Regions from separate parts of the Homo sapiens genome. Here region 1 is linked to region 2. Evidence: promoter capture Hi-C in human tissues and cell types (Jung and others, 2019). All regions are on one chromosome and are shown on one strand. Each heading gives the region's core, a stretch centred on a gene start or on the middle of the fragment in contact. The rest is flanking DNA. Distances are from core to core; before and after follow the strand shown. Region 1 holds the start of CCL25 (C-C motif chemokine ligand 25). Region 2 holds the start of LOC124904632 (a long non-coding RNA gene).

Region 1 (4,439 bases), core at 1,501-4,000, 330 kb before region 2:
CCAAAGTGCTGGGATTACAAGTGTGAACCACTGCTCCCGGCCGATAGCGGATTACTCTTAATGCCCCCAGCTGCTGCAGGAGTGGAAGAGGCCAGTCCAGCCCCGACTGTGAAGGTCTGGCCTTTACTCAAAGCAACTGTGGTCCTCAGAACTCCGGGATCATCCCGTTTCTTGCTCCAACCCCTGGGTCCCAGGTCCCCAGCGCGCCCACCCCAGTGCTCCGTGCTTGCTGGTCCCTGGAGGGCCCCCTTACTGGGAACCCTTCCTCCCCGTGAAGGCTGCCGGCGGGACAAACAGTGAGGGGTGAGGCAGGGAGGGAGACTCACGTTGGGGACCTCCCCCAAGTCTGGGTAACACCGTCTTGGCCGCGGCCCGCGGGTTGGGAAGGTAGGGGGCAGTGAGCCGTAGCGGAGAGGCTGGCCCCAGCCCGCCACGCCGCTTCCCCACGCTCGCAGCCACGCGGAGCCGCGTCCTGGTCCAGCCTCACCCACCCAGAGCAAGAGGCGGAGGAACTGGAACAGCGCCCCGGCCCGTGGGCTGCCACTGGCCGCAGCAACGGGACGGGTGAGAGCACCTGCCCCCGACGCGTCTTAACTGCTCTGGTGGGGCGGGGCTGACCGTGCAAGCCCCGCCCCAGTCTAAGCCCCTCCTACAAAGCCCGGCCCCTTACCATAAGCGCCATCTGTCAGGCTCCGCCCACTGTCTTAAATCCCACTCACTCTGCCCTGCCCCTGACTCGGAGCCATATAGCAAGCCCCGCCCATAGCCATAAGCCACGCCCACCCAGCCCTGCCCCTGGGCTCTAAGTGTCATTTATCTAGTCACGTCCCCGGCTAGAAGCCACACCCACCAGGCCCGGCCCCACCTCTAAGCCCCACTCACCCGGCCATGTGGTTTGGGACAGGGAAGTAGGCTAGGGGCCGCCGCCTCTGGGCTCCCAGTGGAAGGGGAGAAATGAGAAAGGAGTTTAGGATGTGATAAATACCCACAGAGGTCAGATGTAGCTATGGATGCAGGCGATAAAAAGTTTAAAGCAATCAGCTGTGCGGCCTCTGCAGCGCTCCTTTCGCCCTCCCTAATCTTCACCTCGTGTCTCCCCCAGTCCCTGTGTCCTGGCTGGGTCCTGCTGCCCCAGGGAAAGAAGACATGCCTTCTCCCATCCTGGCTAACATGGTGAAACCCCGTCTCTACTAAAAATACAAAAAATTAGCCAGGCGTGGTGGCGGGAGCCTGTAGTCCCAGCTACTCGGGAGGCTGAGGCAGGAGAATGGCGTGAACCCGGGAGACGGAGCTTGCAGTGAGCCGAGACAGCGCCACCGCACTCCAGCCTGGGCAAAAGAGCAAGACTCCGTCTCAGAAGAAAAAAAAAAAAGACATGCCTTCTCGGTGAATGTTGCTTTGCTTCCTGAGGGCATGGCTACCCGGGGCTCCTGGCTTTTCTTCCAAAAACAAAACATTTCTTCCATTTTTTCTTTTTCTTTTGTTTTTTTTTTTTTTTTTTTTTTTGAGACAGAGTTTCACTCTTGTCGCCCAGGCTGGAATGCAGTGGCCCAATCTCGGCTCACTGCAACCTCCGCCTCCCGGGTTCAAGCGATTCTCCTGCCTCAGCCTCCTGAGTAGCTGGAATTACAGGTGCCCCCCCACCACACTCGGCTAATTTTTGTAATTTTAGTAGAGATGGGGTTTTGCCATGTTGGCCAGGCTGGTCTCGAACTCCTGACCTCAGAGGATCCGCCTGCCTCGGCCTCCCAAAGTGCTGGTATTACAGGTGTGAGCCACTGTGTCCGGCCACCGTTTTTTTTTCCATTTTTTGAGACAGGGTCTTGCTCTGTTGCCCAGGCTGGAGTGCAGTGGCATGATCACAGCTCACTGCAGCCTCAACCTCCAAGGCTCAAGCAATCCTCACACCTCAGCCTCCTGAGTGGCTGGGACTACAGGTATGCACTACTACGTCAGGCTAATTTTTTAAAAAATTTTTGTAGTGACGCAGGTCTCTCTATATTGCCCGGGGTGGTCTTGAGCTCCTGGGCTCAAGCAATCCTCTGGCCTCGGCCTCCCAAAGTGTTGGGCTTACAGACATGAGCCACCATGCCTGGCCTAGAGAGTTTCTTTCTTGTTGGGGTTGTTCACCGGTGGGAGGTGCACCATTGTGCCGTGCTGACTATATTCATAGAGTTATGTAACCATCACTCTCATCTAATTTCAGAACAAAAGGAAACCCATACCCTCTCACAGTCAGTCCTTCATTCTCCCCTCCCCCCATCCTGTGGCCACCGCTAATTTACTTTCTGTTTCTATGGATTTGCCTGTGATCACAACCAGAGGATTTCTGTGACATGCTAAGTTACCTAACCATGGTGTGGAAGGAGAGGGAAATGGAGTGAAGTTGGGGACCCACCAGGGAACAGGTGGCTTGAGGGCGGGGGGAGCATGAAGGTAAGGGCTTGTTTGGGGGCTCAAGGCAGTCTGAGCCTTGTTCGCAGGCAGCCAGTGTCCACCAGGTGTGTGCAGGTGAGGGAAACAGGGGAAAAGGCCCTTTCTGGAGACAGTAGGGGTGCTGGCTGGGAGGCCTGGGATGGGGAGTGGGGAGGCAAGGGGGCCTGTGGGTCGAGGTTGGAGCTTGCTGTAGAAGAGGGAGAATTCCAGAGGCTGAGAGTGCAGGTGGAGAGGAGGAGGAAGGGAGGAGGGCGGGCAGGGGGTGGCTGGGTGGGGCTCTGTCTATAAAGAGTGAAGCTCAGCGTGTTGGTCCTGCAGATGGGACAGCTTGGCCTACAGCCCGGCGGGCATCAGCTCCCTTGACCCAGTGGATATCGGTGAGTCTTTTCCTTGAACATGACTGAGATGAACAGCTTTTCCCTCCAGCACAACTTGTTCCTACTTTATACAACCTCCTTCCCTTGCCATATGCCTGGGGCTTAAGAGGGGGGATGTTCCCAGTACCCACTCCCCTCCTCTTCCTCAGTCCTTACCACTTCCCTCCACGACCCCAGGTGGCCCCGTTATTCGTCCAGGTGCCCAGGGAGGAGGACCCGCCTGCAGCATGAACCTGTGGCTCCTGGCCTGCCTGGTGGCCGGCTTCCTGGGAGCCTGGGCCCCCGCTGTCCACACCCAAGGTACTGTGTTCGGCAATGCCTACCACCAAGTGCCCCTCTCCCCATGCCCCCACCCCACCCCTTTTGTCTCTTATCTCCTCCGGAAGTCTCCCCAATCCCATCTCCACTGAATTCTCCCGCTCCTGACATGCAGGAACTCCTGGTGTTTGGTTAGCTCTTGGGATGGGGTCGGGGAGATGGAGAGTCCCCAGTTCCTTCTTCGAGAGCCCCATGGAGTCTTTTGCAAGACTCCTAAAGATGTGAGGGAGCAGAGGGTGGCTTCCAGCTGTGGGCAAAGCCAGTTACTGCCAGGGATGTATTGTAGAATCCTAATCCTGCCGAGCCAGGGGTGGGGTTGGAGATCAGGGCCCTGGAGACTGACAAGAGTGGATTCCCATCCTGGTCCCTCCATGCAGTCCAGCTGAGAGTTAGTTGCTCCTAAACCATTTTTTTTTTTTTTTTTTTGAGACAGAGTCTCACTCTGTCACCCTGGCTGGAGTGCAGTGGCGCGATCTTGGCTCACTGCAACCTCCGCCTCCTGGGCTCAAGCGATCCTTCTGCCTCAGCCTCCCAAGTAGCTGGGACTACAGGCGTGTGTACCATGCCCGGCTAATTTTTGTATTTTTTAGTAGAGATGGGGTTTCACTATGTTGGCCAGAGTAGTCTCGATCTCCTGATCTCAGGCGATCCGCCTGCCTCAGCCTCCCAAAGTGCTAGGATTACAGGTTTGAGCCACTGTGCCCGGCTTCCTAAACCTTTAGGAGCCTCCGTTTCCTCAGCTGCAAAGTGGGAATCTAAAATTCCCACTGCATGGCTCTGACTTGAGGGTCCAGTGAGCTCATGCCTGCAAAAGACTAGGCCTCATGTCTGGCGGCGGCAATAGTAACTGTTCCTGTTATTAATAGGGAACTCTTTCCTTCTTCCCCACTCCCTACCGCAGAGCAAGCACTTGAGGATTTCAGTCGCCAAAGGACAATTCCTGGGCCTGGGGTGTCCCCACGGGAGCCCTGACACTGGGTCCTACATCCTCTGAGTTTCAGCAGCTGGCCAAAGCAGGGTCCCTGGCTGGGCGGCAGACCCAGGGTCCCACCCTCCTTCCCTGTCTGCCCCCACCTGACCCACCTGCCCCTCGGCTGGGTCTGATGGGTCCAAGTCCTTGGCCTTTGCCTGGGAAGGGGGTTGGGCTGTGGTCTGATTGTTTTGCTATCAGAGCCAGGCCCAGCCCAGCCCTTCGATCCTGGCCTCCAGCCTTGGGAACTACCTGCCTGGCACTGCAGTCCGAGGTTCCAACAGAATGCGCTGCCCCTTGCCCTCAGAGGCCGCGGTTGGGAGACACCTGGAGGGCTC
Region 2 (4,914 bases), core at 1,475-3,974:
AGACTCTGTCTCAAAAAAGAAAGAAAAAAAGAAAGAAAAGAAAAACACCATGGCAGGAAACTAACAAGGGGCCAGGAAGCTGGGATGTGAACCTGGACCTGTTAAACTCCAGAGCTGCAGCTGTAAATCACATCCCTCTCCTGGACCACAGGAGCTCACTGGCCCCAGTTCCTGCATTTGGAAAATGGGGATGGTTTTGACACCCCACCCCTCCATGCCACCATCCCTTCCTGGCCTCATGGTGTGGGGAGGGGGTGGTAAAGAATTAATAAGGCATTAATATTCATCACAGGCTGGGTCCAGTGCCTCGCGACTGTAATCCCAGCTCTTTGGGAGGCTGAGGCTGGAGGACCTTGGAGTTTGAGACCAGCCTACGCAACACAGCAAGACCTCATCTCTACGATAAATTTTTAAAAAGTCCGGGTGCAGTGGCTCATGCCTATAATCCCAGCACTTTGGGAGGCCAAGGCGGGTGGATCATGAGGTTAGGAGTTCAAGACCAGCCTGGCCAAGATAGTGAAACCCCATCTCTACTAAAAATACAAAAAAATTAGCCAGGTGTGGTGGTGGGCGCCTGTAATCCCAGCTACTTGAGAGGCTAAGGCAGAGAATTGCTTGGACTCGGGAGGCAGAGGGTGCAGTGAGCCGAGATCATGCCACTGCACTCCAGCCTGGGCAACAGAGTGAGACCCTGCCTCAAAAAAAAAAAAAAAGAATCAAGAGAAATTTCAGAGGGAGGAGAGACAGAATAAGGCAACTGAGGATGATAGAGGGAGGGAGGCAGAGAGGAGAAGATGAGACAGAAGTCCATGTCCTCTGGGTTTGATGGGAGGGAGGGAAGGAAGGATGGAGACACAAGAGGGGGAGTGGATATGGGGAAGGAGTCAAATTTGTTTATGGGATTGAGAGGTGAAGCCGGCTAGGCTTCTGGGTCGGGTGGGGACTTGAACTTTTCTGTCTAGCTAAAGGATTGTAAACGTACCAATCAGCACTCTGTGTCTAGCTAAAGGATTGTAAATGCACCAATCAGCACTCTGTGTCTAGCTAAAGGTTTGTAAATGCACCAATCAGCGCTCTGTGTCTAGCTAATCAGGTAGGGGACTTGGAGAATTTTCTGTCTAGCTAAAGGATTGTAAATGCACCAATCAGCACTTTGTGTCTAGCTAAAGTTTTGTAAATGCACCAATCAGCACTCTGTCAAAATGGACAAATCAGCACTCTAAAACGGAACAATCAGCACTCTGTAAAATGGACCAATCAGCTCTCTGTAAAATAGACCAATCAGCAGGATGTGGGTGGGGCCAAATAAGGGAATAAAAGGCCACCCGAGCCAGCAGCAGCAACCCACTCAGGTTCCCTTCCACGCTGTAGAAGCTCTGTTCTTTCACTCTTCGCAATAAATCTTGCTGCTGCTCACTCTTTGGGTCCGCACCACCTTTATGAGCTGTAACACTCACCGCAAAGATCTGCAGCTTCACTCCTGAAGTCAGCGAGACCACGAACCTACCAGAAGGAATAAACTCCAGACACATCCAAACATCAGAAGGAACAAACTCCAGACACACCATCTTTAAGAACTGTAACACTCACCGTGAGGGTCCACAGCTTCATTCTTGAAGTCAGTGAGACCAAGAACCCACCAATACTGGACACATTTTGGCGACCACGAAGGGACTATCGCCTATCACCAAGCGGTGAGACTATCGCCTATCACCAAGCGGTGAGTACCATCGGACCCCTTTCGCTTGCTATTCGTCCTATTTTTCCTTAGAATTTGGGGGCTAAATACCGGGCACCTGTCGGCCAGTTAAAAGCGACTAGCGCAGGTGCTGGACTAAAGACATGGGTGTGAGGCTTTCTGGGAAGGGGCTCTCTAACAAACCCCGACTTTTTGGAGTTGGGAGCGTTAGTTTGCCTGGAACCAGCTTCCGCTTTTCCTGTACTTCTGGGCTGAGTCGAGGGTTGACAGGAAAGCCATTCAGCTCTGGGGTCTTGACAACAAGTTGGTTGATCCTGTGGCCATGAGCAGAACTCTCAAAGTCATGTCGCCCAAGTGAGACTCGCCCATCTATCCTATCTGTCCTGACCCTTGCCTCCTGGGTCCTAATGCCTGTCAGACAAACTTCCTCTCGCCTCTCTTCTCCGAGGCTAGTCCCACCTCTAAAAACCACTCCCTGTCTCTGGTGCTTTTCTAGTTTCTCCTATAAGAATGACTTCTAGTATAAACTTCAGGACTCTGTTACCTTCTTTAGGCACCTAGGCTCACTAATCAGAAAGACATAATTTTTGCCCAAAGCCCTGTTGTAGGGGGGCTATCTGGAATTTTAGGATCCCTCCTCAGACAAGCAGGACTAATAAAAGCTATTCCTGAAGCTAGGATATGGGGAGCCTCAGAAATTGTATTCTTCCTATTCATATAAGTGAGGACAAAAGGTGTCACTCTTCCAACCCTGGAGATCCCTTCCTTCCCTCATGGTATGGCCCTCCACTTCATTTTTGGGGCATAACATCATTGTAGGAAATTGGTAAGGTCCCAATACTAAAAGGAGAATGCTTAGGACTGTAACAGGTTTTCGAGAATGTGTTGGTAAGGGCCACTAAATCCAATTTTTCTCGGTCATCTTTGTGGTCTAGGAGGACAGGCAAGGGTGCAGGTTTTTTGAGAATGCGTTGGTAAGGGCCACTAAATCCGACCTTCCTCGGTTCTCCTTGTGGTCTGGGAGGAAAGCTACTGTTTCTGCTGCTGCGTTGGTGAGTGCAACTATTCCAATCAGCAGGGTCTAGTGACCATTACGGGTTCTTGGGCAGGGGTTGTTTCTGCTGCTGCATCAGTGAGCGCAACTATTCCGATCAGCAGGGCCCAAGGACCATTGTGGATTCTTGGGCAGGGGGAGAAGAAAAACACACCAAAATCGTGGGTGGTTTTGTCTTTCAGATGGGAAACAGGCATCAACAGGCTCACCCTTGAAATGCATCCTAGGCCATTGGGACCAGTCTGACCTGCAAACCCTGAAAAAGAGGCAGCTCATTTTTTTCTGCACTGTGGCCTGGCCCCAATATTCTCTCTCTGATGGGGAAAAATGGCCATCTGAGGGAAGTACAAATTACAATACTATCCTGCAGCTTGACCTTTTCTGTAAGAGAAAGGCAAATGGAGTGAAATAGTTATGTCCAAGCTTTCCTTTCATTAAAGGAGAATACACATCTATGCAAAGGTTGCAATTTACATCCCACAGGAGAACCTTTCAGCTTACCCCCATATCCTAGCCTCCCTACAGCTCCCCTTCGTATTAGTGACAAGCCTCCTCTAATCTCCCCTGCCCAGAAGGAAATAAGCAAAGAAATCTCCAAAGGACCACAAAACTCCCCTGGGCTGTCGGTTATGTCCCCTTCAAATTGTAGCGGGAGGGGAATTTGGCCTAACATGGGTACATGTCTACTTCTCCCTCTCTGATTTAAAGCAGATCAAGGCACACCTGGGGAAGTTTTCAGATGATCCTGATAGGTACATAGATGTCCTACAGGGTCTAGGGCAAATCTTCAATCTCACTTGGAGAGATGTCATGCTATTGTTAGATCAAACCCTGGCCTTTAATGAAAATAATGCAGCTTTAGCTGCAGCCCAAGACTTTGGAGGTACCTGGTATCTTAGTTAAGTAAATGATAGAATGACAGCTGAAGAAAGGGACAAATTCCCTACTGGTCAGCAAGCCATCCCCAGTATGGATCCCCACTGGGACTTCAATTCAGATCATGGGGACTGGAGTCATAAACATCTGTTGACCTATGTTCTAGAAGGACTAAGGATAATTAGGAAGAAGCCCATGAATTATTCACTGATGTCCACCATAACTCAGGGAAAGGAAGAAAATCCTTCTGCCTTCCTCGAGTGGCTACAGAAGGCCTTAAGAAAATATACTCCCCTGTCACCCAAATCACTCAAGGGTCAATTGATCCTAAAAGATAAGTTTATTATCCAATCAGCCACAGATATCAGGAGAAAGCTCCAAAAGTGAGCCCTGTGCCCTGAACAAAATCTAGAGGCATTATTAAACCTGGCAACCTCACTGTTCTATAACAGGGACCAAGAGGAACAGGCCCAAAAGGAAAAGTGAGATCAGAGAAAGGCCGCAGACTTAGTCATGGCCCTCAGACAAACAAACCTTGGTGGTTCAGAGAGGACAGAAAATGGAGCAGGCCAATCATCCAGTATGGCTTGTTAGCAGTGTGGTTTGCAAGGACACTTTAAAAAAGATTGTCCAATGAGAAACAAGCTGCCCCCTTGTCCATGTCCCCTATGCCAAGGCAATCACTGGAAGGCACACTGCCCCAGAGGACAAAGCTTCTCTGGGACAGAAGCCCCCAACCAGATGATCCAACAACAGGACTGAGGGTGCCTGGGGCAAGTGTCAGCTCATGTCATCACTCTCACTGAGCCCCAGGTAACTTTAACCATTGACAGCCAGGAAATTGACTTCCTCCTGGACACTGGTGCGGCTTTCTCAGTGTTAATTTCCTGTCCTGAACAGCTGTCCTCCAGGTCCGTTACCATCTGAGGAATCCTGGGACAGCCTGTAACCAGGTATTTCTCCCACCTCCTCAGTTGTAATTGGGAGACTTTGCTCTTTTCACATGCCTTTCTTGTTATGCCTGAAAGTCCCACACCCTTATTAGGGAGGGATATATTAGCCAAAGCTGGAGCTATTATCTACATGAATATGGGGAACAAGTTTCCCATTTGTTGTCCCCTACTTGAGGATGAAATCAAGCCTGAAGTCTGGGCATTGGAAGGACAATTTGGAAGGGCAAAAAATGCCCACCCAGTCCAAATCAGGGTAAAAGATCCCACCACATTTCCTTATCAAAGGCAATATTCCTTAAAGCCTGAAGCTTATAAAGGATTACAGGATATTG

Evidence for each region. The method cuts DNA at HindIII sites, captures the fragments that hold promoters and counts their contacts. A contact is called where the count stands out against the background at its distance.
Region 1: the fragment with the promoter of CCL25 here is called in contact with a fragment that was not itself captured in region 2 in 1 of the 25 tissues and cell types used here (spleen).

Annotation. Positions count from the first base shown.
Region 1 is chr19:8,050,010-8,054,448 of GRCh38, forward strand. It overlaps CCL25 (C-C motif chemokine ligand 25), which reads left to right and starts at 2,751. Exons shown (of 6, transcript NM_005624.4): 1 at 2,751-2,813; 2 at 2,991-3,113. The coding sequence starts at 3,041. RefSeq lists silencers at 304-393, 694-753. The HindIII fragment of the contact is 31,009 bases long and covers 1-4,439 here.
Region 2 is chr19:8,378,258-8,383,171 of GRCh38, forward strand. The region is part of intron 1 of RAB11B-AS1 (RAB11B antisense RNA 1); the gene reads right to left. It overlaps LOC124904632 (a long non-coding RNA gene), which reads left to right and starts at 1,342. Exons shown (of 2, transcript XR_007067128.1): 1 at 1,342-1,720. The HindIII fragment of the contact is 3,783 bases long and covers 834-4,616 here.